2 separate regions of the Homo sapiens genome follow, and region 1 is linked to region 2. The links are contacts of gene promoters, found by promoter capture Hi-C in blood cells and fetal thymus (Javierre and others, 2016). All regions are on one chromosome and are shown on one strand. The core of a region is centred on a gene start or on the middle of the fragment in contact, and the rest is flanking DNA. Distances in the headings are between cores, read along the strand shown.

Region 1 (3,007 bases), core at 396-2,895, 440 kb after region 2:
CCTTCCCTACCAGATATCTGCCCCCTTCCAGGCTCACTTCAGATGTGACCCATGGATGACTCCCTCTGCTGTGTTCACCTCCACAGCCAGGGCCTCCATTAGCACACAGAGCACCCTCATGCAATTAAGATGGTGTCCCTCCTCCAGGTGGATGCGAGGCTTGGGGAACACAGTGCAGGAGGGATTTCAGCCTTCAGCTGGGAGCCCTGATGCAGTGAACCACCTACACGACCATACCCAGCTGATCCCTGCAGGGACCCATGTTGACTCTACTGGCCCTACGGTGGCCTCTCACCTCAGCAATGACCTCTGCCAGCCCGGGGTTACACAGAACCAGCCAGCGCCGAGGGGTGATGCCGTTGGTCTTATTCTGGAACTTATGAGGCTCCAGCTCATAGAAGTCTTTGAAGCTGCAGGATGAGGTTGGACGAGGGTCACCACTCACCCCTGTACAATGAAGGCCTCTGCCCTGGGGCCCCTACCCTGGTGTCTTGCTGAAAGGGGCCTGGGGCAGGGAATGCAGACCTGGGGAAGGTTGGGGGTGCTGTGTGTAAGAGGAGGTCATCTCAGGACAGGGCGGCACTGGAAGGGGCTGCTGTGCTTGTAAGAATGACGCCACCTGTGAAAGGCGCCAGGGCCCAGAGACCAGAGAGTGGTCGGTGAAGGGCGGGGCTTCTGTGTGACAGAGGCGTGGAGTGGGTGGGGCCTAGAGAGGGGCGGGATCTGGAAAGCGGGGCTCACATGGTCTTCTTGAGGATCTCGGAGTGGATGCGCGCCACGCCGTTGACGGCGTGCGACCCCGCGATGCACAGGTGTGCCATGTTGATGCGCTTCACTGCGCCCTCCTCCACCAGCGACATGCGCCGCAGCCGGTCTACGTCCCCTGGGAATGCGGCCGCCACCCGCTGTGCCCAGAGAGCCCAGAGCTAGAACCAGACCCAGGAACCCCCATCCCCAGTCCCCAGCCCCACACCCCCAGAGCTCTGCCCAGTGCCCCCACTGCCCCAGAGTCTCAGGGCCCTGGCTGGACGCCCCGACTCCCAGGCCCAGACTGGGTGTCCCCCCTCACCCCCACACCATCCCCCAAGCCTCCGGACTCACGTTGAGGAAGCGCTGGTTGATCTCGTAGATGATCTGGAGGTGCCGCGGCAGCAGCGTCTCCAAGAGGTGCACCGGCCAGCGCTCCAGGGCCTCGGGCAGCACCGTGTGGTTGGTGTAGGCACAGGTCCTCACTGTCACATCCCACGCCTGGCACACGGGGTGGGCAGTCAGGATGCTGACCTCAGCCCAGTGGGTCTCCTCACACACTACGCATCCCAGTGGGCCCCCCCACTGCAGTGCCAGGTTCCAGGACGGTCCCTCTGGCCTCAGGCTCTGATCCCTTCACTCCATTCATATCCTCCCACGCTCCCAAACTGGGAAGGGAACCCCGAGGCAGAGAGCATCAGATGGGGCAGAGGGGCCCTGAAGCCCACCTTGTCCCAGTCCATCCGTTCCAGGTCCACCAGGATCCTCATCAGCTCGGGGATGGCCAGGGAGGGGTGGGTGTCATTGAGCTGGATGGCCACCTGGGGTAGGGGGAGGGGTCAGTCTGGGCTCCAAACCACATTCCATGCTATGGTCACTGCCCTATGCCATTTGGAGGCCCCCAGAGAGCCCAGCACGGTTCTGTGACTGGGCTGTGGGCAGAGGCAGGCCGGTGCTCATGGGGGTGGGAGGAATGGGGGGAGTGGGGCGGGAGGAGGAGGGAAGCCCAGGTTCTGAGCCTGTGGATTGTGAATCCTGAACAACTGACCCTCCCACACTCCCAGTCTCCACTCCCTTATCTATTACATGGGGCAGGCAGGCCGAGGCTGGAGGGAGAGGCCTAGCACACACTGTCCGGTCACAGAGTCGCCCTCCACACGCATGGTACCTTATCTGGGAAGGCATCGAAGTTCGTGCGCACGGGATCACGGCAGCCGAACTTGGAAGACTTGAAGCGACGGATGATGTCCTGGAGGGTGGCAGCCACCACGAAATACTCCTGCTTCAGCCGCAGCTCCTTCCCTTCGAAGAACTGGGGACAGCATGAGGCAGCGTGAGTCAGGGCGGTGGGGGCATGGCCTAAAGCTGCGGTGGGTGTGGCCAGGAGGGACTCCCACCCATACCGGGACCCCTGAGCCCTGAGCCGGCCCCCTCTCTGGGACCCAGGGGCCTTTCCTCCACCAAGAACTAGTGGCGAGAGACAGTGTCAGGAAGAGGGGTACAAGAACCGAGTGTGTTGTGGGTGTCGCCAGGGAACAGCCCCTCCAAAGTGCCCTTCGCTAACCCAGTTTCCTCAGGACTCAGGTGTCCTTGCACTCAAAAGACTTGAGGTGGGGGCACAGGATGCACAAGGCCAGCAATATGCCCTGGGTGTGACTAGGGCACCAGCAAGTGTCCTTCCCCAGCTCTCCCTGACCCCTGCTGCCAAGGACTCAGGCTTCCAGCCCCCAGCCCAGGGGGTGACGCACATTATCATTGGGGTACAGGACACGAGAGATGTTCTCCGCCAGGTTTCGGTCCAACACAGCCTGGATGTAGCCACCGACATTGACTGAGGGACAAAAGTGGGGACAGGGTAAGGCCTGCGCTGGGCGTGGCCGGCGGGCAAGCTGGGGTTGCTGGCTACCAGTGGATGAACTCACAGTCCTTGAGGTTGAAGTCATTGGGAGCCTTGGCAGACCAGAGGCGCATGGTGTTGACAACATTGTTGCGATAGCCAGGCACGGGCGTATCGTAGGGCATGGCCAGTACCACCTGCGGGGGGCAATCCTGTCAGGAGCTGGCCAGCCCTGGCAATTGCCTCCCTCCCCTCAGGGCTGGGACTCAAGGCTTTATCCCTGCACTCTGCAGACCCAGGCTCTTGTCCTTGTCTAGCATCGATGAGCTGGGTAACCATGAGCAAACCCCATAGTCTCTCTGGACCGCATCTAGAGCAAAGACACCCTCAACACCTCCCCGACACCCATAAGCCCTGCCTGGG
Region 2 (6,250 bases), core at 1,681-4,180:
TGGACAGCTGCTACTGAGGAAGGCCACAGGGGGAGCCACTGTGGGAAGATGCTTGACCCCTGAGGCCTGACAGATTCGAGTGCTCCTGACTCTTGTCCTCTAATTGTCACAGCAGCCCCAGTGAATGCACTGGTGTCTCATCTGCTGGTGGTTGAGCCTGAGAAGCTCTATGCCATGCCTGACCCCGCAGGCCCTGATGGGCACCTCCCAGCCGTGGCTACCCTCTGTGACCTCTTTGACCGAGAGATTGTGGTCACCATCAGCTGGGCCAAGAGCATCCCAGGTAAAGGGCCCAGGTGACCCGGGGCTGCCCTGAACGGGCCCGGCTCTGGTGCGCTTGCTCAGCCAGGCCCGCTCCCCGCTGCCCCCTAGGCTTCTCATCGCTGTCGCTGTCTGACCAGATGTCAGTACTGCAGAGCGTGTGGATGGAGGTGCTGGTGCTGGGTGTGGCCCAGCGCTCACTGCCACTGCAGGATGAGCTGGCCTTCGCTGAGGACTTAGTCCTGGATGAAGAGGGGGCACGGGCAGCTGGCCTGGGGGAACTGGGGGCTGCCCTGCTGCAACTAGTGCGGCGGCTGCAGGCCCTGCGGCTGGAGCGAGAGGAGTATGTTCTACTAAAGGCCTTGGCCCTTGCCAATTCAGGTGAGTCTGGGGCAGGCACTGACAGGTGAGGTGTCTCCGTAAGGTCTTCAGGTTAACTCAGTGACGGTAGCACAGCCCCATTTTGCAGATAACGAAAACTGAGGCTTAGGGAAGAACAATGACTTGCTAGAAGTCAAAAAGCAAGCCAAGTGCAGGCTCCAAACTGCACACAGGATTTTGAGCCCTAGTGCCACACTAATGCAGAAAGGTCATTTAGTGGGAGGGAAGGTGGGGAGGGTACAAGGTGGCCACAGTTGAGGGAGAGAGGGTGGGGTCCTGGCCCACGAGCCGCAGCAATGAGTGGTGCCTCTCAGTCAGCCAATCAACAAATCCTCGTTTGGCTCTTCCTTAGGCCCCATCCAGCAGTGCTCAAGATACGGGGAGTGCCCTTGCCAGAGATAGCCCAGGCCAACACCACATTCCTCTCTTCTTGCAGACTCTGTGCACATCGAAGATGCCGAGGCTGTGGAGCAGCTGCGAGAAGCTCTGCACGAGGCCCTGCTGGAGTATGAAGCCGGCCGGGCTGGCCCCGGAGGGGGTGCTGAGCGGCGGCGGGCGGGCAGGCTGCTGCTCACGCTACCGCTCCTCCGCCAGACAGCGGGCAAAGTGCTGGCCCATTTCTATGGGGTGAAGCTGGAGGGCAAGGTGCCCATGCACAAGCTGTTCTTGGAGATGCTCGAGGCCATGATGGACTGAGGCAAGGGGTGGGACTGGTGGGGGTTCTGGCAGGACCTGCCTAGCATGGGGTCAGCCCCAAGGGCTGGGGCGGAGCTGGGGTCTGGGCAGTGCCACAGCCTGCTGGCAGGGCCAGGGCAATGCCATCAGCCCCTGGGAACAGGCCCCACGCCCTCTCCTCCCCCTCCTAGGGGGTGTCAGAAGCTGGGAACGTGTGTCCAGGCTCTGGGCACAGTGCTGCCCCTTGCAAGCCATAACGTGCCCCCAGAGTGTAGGGGGCCTTGCGGAAGCCATAGGGGGCTGCACGGGATGCGTGGGAGGCAGAAACCTATCTCAGGGAGGGAAGGGGATGGAGGCCAGAGTCTCCCAGTGGGTGATGCTTTTGCTGCTGCTTAATCCTACCCCCTCTTCAAAGCAGAGTGGGACTTGGAGAGCAAAGGCCCATGCCCCCTTCGCTCCTCCTCTCATCATTTGCATTGGGCATTAGTGTCCCCCCTTGAAGCAATAACTCCAAGCAGACTCCAGCCCCTGGACCCCTGGGGTGGCCAGGGCTTCCCCATCAGCTCCCAACGAGCCTCCTCAGGGGGTAGGAGAGCACTGCCTCTATGCCCTGCAGAGCAATAACACTATATTTATTTTTGGGTTTGGCCAGGGAGGCGCAGGGACATGGGGCAAGCCAGGGCCCAGAGCCCTTGGCTGTACAGAGACTCTATTTTAATGTATATTTGCTGCAAAGAGAAACCGCTTTTGGTTTTAAACCTTTAATGAGAAAAAAATATATAATACCGAGCTCAAAAACACTGTGTTTGGTGTCATTGGGTCAAGGGTTGGGGATACACACGGCAGAATTCGGAAACAGGGTATAGATCAACAAAAATACACAGTCATAACAAGAAAAACTGGCGCCTGGCACAATCAACTCTCAGTTTCCTCTTCACTCAGCAGCATGTTGGGGATCCCGCGGCTGATGGGGAACATACGTCCAGATTCCGGGCACTGCAGGGTGCCCTCTATCACTTCCACCTGCGGGCAGGGAGGGACAGAGCTGAGCACTGGCAGCCTCAGTGCGGGAGGCAGGTGGCCCGGGAAGCAAGTGATGGGCCGCTTCTCACCTCCAGCAGCAGGTGGTGCATGGTCCTCAGAAACTCCTCATTCTCCTCATATCCCTCAACCGGCCCTTTCGGCACCTGGATCAGACGCAACTGTGGGCAAGAGGCCAAAATTATCTCCGGGCATCCCGAACTCCCGCCTCAGCCCGGCTGAGGTGTGCCCGCCCCGCATTCCCCGGGATATGCTGGGGCGGGGTAAGGATCCTCACGTTATCGGCCGCCTCCAGGAACGCCGACCACTCCACTTTAGGTATCATACGCGCCACGAAGTTGGGGTTGAATTCCACAGGGCAGATACGGACCTCGGTGGCCTGCAGGGCGGAGGAGTTTAGGCAAGCACTGGACCCCGGCCCACCATCCCGCCCGAAAAGGGAAGACTGCCGCCGGCGGGTACCTGGAGGCGCAGGGGGAAGCCACGGGACCCCACCCCCCGCACATGCGAGCTCAGCAGATTGTGGGTAAGCAGTTTCATGTCGCCGCACAAACTCTCGCCAGGCCGGAACCGGAAAAAGGTCGTCCTCCGCTGCCTCACTTCCGGGGATGCTCCTCTCGATGCTATTGGATAGCCAGGAGAACCGGAAGTGGCGAACTTGCTGGAACTTCTCGTGTTTGTGGGAGCTGAGGTAGGTAGGTGAAAGACCTGTCGGGTCACGCGCCGCTACCGGAAGCGTCTCAGCAGGAGGTTCCTACGGCGCACGCCCAGCTTTTTTTTGCCACAAATTCTTCGTAAGATGCAAATCATATGCAAAATAGCTGCAATGCAGGAGCTCTCGTTGAATGCAAAATAAACACATTTTACTCCTACACAGGCGCCTAACACCGTCGTCCTCTGTATCCCACTTTCGGTTAAGGGGCAGAAATACCGCCCTATCTGTAAATTAGGCCCATGGAAGCCGAGCCGCACCTCATTCCTATATGCAAATTAGCTGCTCCAGTGCCGAAAGCTCCGCCCCATTTGTAGTTGCGTCGGCTGTCCAGCACCCAGTGCAAACGAGGCGTGGGTCCCGGAAGCTCTGTTCTGCGGGTGGCCGCTCGCGCCTGCGCAGTGGAGGCGGCCCAGGCCCGCCTTCCGCAGGGTGTCGCCGCTGTGCCGCTAGCGGTGCCCCGCCTGCTGCGGTGGCACCAGCCAGGAGGCGGAGTGGAAGTGGCCGTGGGGCGGGTATGGGACTAGCTGGCGTGTGCGCCCTGAGACGCTCAGCGGGCTATATACTCGTCGGTGGGGCCGGCGGTCAGTCTGCGGCAGCGGCAGCAAGACGGTACAGTGAAGGAGAGTGGGCGTCTGGCGGGGTCCGCAGTTTCAGCAGAGCCGCTGCAGCCATGGCCCCAATCAAGGTGACCGCTGGCCCGGCCGGGCCTGACATCCCCCACTACCCCCATGGCAATCCCCGTCCCGCTAGTCTGAGAGTATCGCTTTATTTCCTGCCTGCCAGACCCCTCCCCTCCGCCCGCCCGGCTCATCCCTTCAGAAGGCCCTCGTGGCTGCCCACCTTTCTCGCCAATCGTGGGGGCCTCACCTCCCGGGACAGTCCCGAGGCATTGTGTTTTTTGTTTTTTGTTTTTTTTTGAGACGGAGTCTTTCTGTGTCGCCCAGGCTGGAGTGCAGTGACGCAATCTCTGCTCACTGCAGCCTCCGCCTCCCGGGTTCAAGCGATTCTACTGCCTCAGCCTCCTGAGTAGCTGGGACTACAGATGCGAGCCACCACGCCCAGCTATTGTATTTTTAGTAGAGACGGGATTTCACCCCGTTGTTCAGATTGGTCTCGAACTCCTGACCTCAGGTGAACCCCCCCCGCCCCCCCCCGCCTCGGCTTCCCGAAGTGCTAGGATTACAGGTGTGAGACACCACTCCCGGCCTGATTTCCCCTATCTTCTGAAACAGCTGTCCCTTAGCGCCCCCGCGGGGGCTTACCCCATCCCACTCCATGACCTCCCCTCCCCCCATGGCGAATTCCCACCTTTCTGTCTTTCACTCACTTCCTGGAACCGTCCCCAGGGCCTTGGACCTTCCCCCTTCTCCTCCCAAACCTTGTGAGACCCCATTCCCTTTCTACTTCATCCTGCTCTCAACCTTTGGGCTCCTCAGAGGCCCTCACCTCTGACTCTCTCTCCCTACCCACTCTGGTCCCATGAAGCCCTCAAGTACTCTGGGGATGGATCCTTCCCCCTTCAAAAGATTCCTTCTTTTGTTCTACACCTCCTGGGTGTAGGGGCCTGGACACCCTCCCCCAACGTTCCACCTGCCGCTGCCCTTCCTCTTCCTCCTCCTGAGGGTGGGACCCTCAGACCTGGCCAAGATCCTCTCCCTCCATGTTGTCAGGGACTCCTCCTCACCCCCAAATACAGCCCTCTAGCCCCTGTCCATTTTATTCCACTCCTTTCCTGTAACCTAGACAGCATGTTATGCAACCCTTTGCGACACATGGGGAAACCTTCCCTCCCTTTCTCTGTTGTCACCAATGGCCCCTTAAGAGGAGCAGGGCCACCTTGAAACTTGGAGGATATGGGGTAACCCAGTGGGAGCGGGCAGGGAGGGCCCTTGGAAACTGACAGGGCTGGAGTATCCTGCTGGGTTTCAGCCCCGGTTCCTGCAGGCACAGCTGCCAGGCTCTCTGTTCACCTTCCTGCCTCTGGTTTGCCCCGGCTCCCTCACCCCCCTTACCCTGGAGTCCTTCCTTCTAGGTGGGAGATGCCATCCCAGCAGTGGAGGTGTTTGAAGGGGAGCCAGGGAACAAGGTGAACCTGGCAGAGCTGTTCAAGGGCAAGAAGGGTGTGCTGTTTGGAGTTCCTGGGGCCTTCACCCCTGGATGTTCCAAGGTGAGGCCCTTCCCCTTCTGAAGATCAGGACCTGGGATCTTTTGTGTTGCTCTTAAGTCCTCCACATAGTCCTGATAGGACTCCTAAAAAGCATTTCAGTGCCATCACAAAACAAGTAGAGCTGGGTAGAGCTGGGCGCGGTGGCTCACGCCTGTAATCCCAGCACTTTGGGAGGCCAAGGCGGGTGGATCACGAGGTCAGGAGTTCAAAACCAGTCTGGCCAAGATGGTGAAACCCTGTCTCTACTAAAAATGCAAAAAAATCAGCCGGACATGGTGGCGGGCGCCTGTAATCCCAGGTACTGGGGAGGCTGAGGCAGAGAATTGCTTGAACCCAGGAGGCGTAGGTTGCAGTGAGTGGAGATCGTGCCTCTGCAGTCCAGCCTGGGTGAAAGAGCGAGACTCCGTCTCAAAATGAAAAAAAAAAAAAAGAAAACAAGTAGAGACTGCAAAAAGGGAACAGTACCAGGAATGTTGGAGAAAAACATACTACAATTAAATCCAACACCCCTGTTGGTCCTGCTAAATGACAGGCACTGTGGAAGGTGCTTGGGACTCAGATAAATAAGACATAGATCTGCCCATGGAAAGTTCACGTCTGGACCATAAGGCATTAGGTTTCATTCTGAGCTTCCTAGTGGCCAAGGCAAAAAGGAAATAGAATGGTTTAGACAGCTCTCATTGTCTGATCAAAGGTGTTGAGGCAGAGCACTGAGGAGGGCCTGGAGATAAAGGGTGGGCTGGGGGTCAGATGCAGTTATCCCTTTGCCGACCCTTTGTTCCCCTTCCTCAGACACACCTGCCAGGGTTTGTGGAGCAGGCTGAGGCTCTGAAGGCCAAGGGAGTCCAGGTGGTGGCCTGTCTGAGTGTTAATGATGCCTTTGTGACTGGCGAGTGGGGCCGAGCCCACAAGGCGGAAGGCAAGGTGAGGTGAGGGGCCTGCAGGGAGTCAGGACCAGGTAGGATATTCTTCTTGTGACCTTTACTTTCTCTGCAGGTTCGGCTCCTGGC

What was found. Contacts are between HindIII fragments. The CHiCAGO score rates a contact against its expected background, and 5 or more counts as called.
Region 1: a fragment that was not itself captured here is called in contact with the fragment with the promoter of TRMT112 in region 2 in 1 of 17 cell types (monocytes); the score reaches 5.6 in monocytes.

Annotation. Positions count from the first base shown.
Region 1 is chr11:64,752,778-64,755,784 of GRCh38, forward strand. It overlaps PYGM (glycogen phosphorylase, muscle associated), which reads right to left. Exons shown (of 20, transcript NM_005609.4): 6 at 2,670-2,781; 7 at 2,496-2,578; 8 at 1,916-2,059; 9 at 1,476-1,568; 10 at 1,102-1,248; 11 at 742-905; 12 at 296-410. Among named protein-coding and RNA genes, the nearest start is that of PYGM, 5.7 kb to the right of the region's middle. RefSeq lists an enhancer at 715-1,325. The HindIII fragment of the contact is 3,981 bases long and covers 1-3,007 here.
Region 2 is chr11:64,314,629-64,320,878 of GRCh38, forward strand. It overlaps TRMT112 (tRNA methyltransferase activator subunit 11-2), which reads right to left and starts at 2,931. Exons shown (of 4, transcript NM_016404.3): 1 at 2,821-2,931; 2 at 2,636-2,737; 3 at 2,430-2,519; 4 at 1,832-2,340. The coding sequence starts at 2,898. The coding sequence ends at 2,233. It overlaps ESRRA (estrogen related receptor alpha), which reads left to right. Exons shown (of 7, transcript NM_004451.5): 5 at 113-283; 6 at 373-642; 7 at 1,079-2,115. The coding sequence ends at 1,338. It overlaps PRDX5 (peroxiredoxin 5), which reads left to right and starts at 3,493. Exons shown (of 6, transcript NM_012094.5): 1 at 3,493-3,758; 2 at 5,106-5,240; 3 at 6,033-6,164; 4 at 6,237-6,250. The coding sequence starts at 3,588. RefSeq lists enhancers at 1,435-1,950, 3,108-3,307 and a silencer at 3,398-3,557. The HindIII fragment of the contact is 12,949 bases long and covers 1-6,250 here.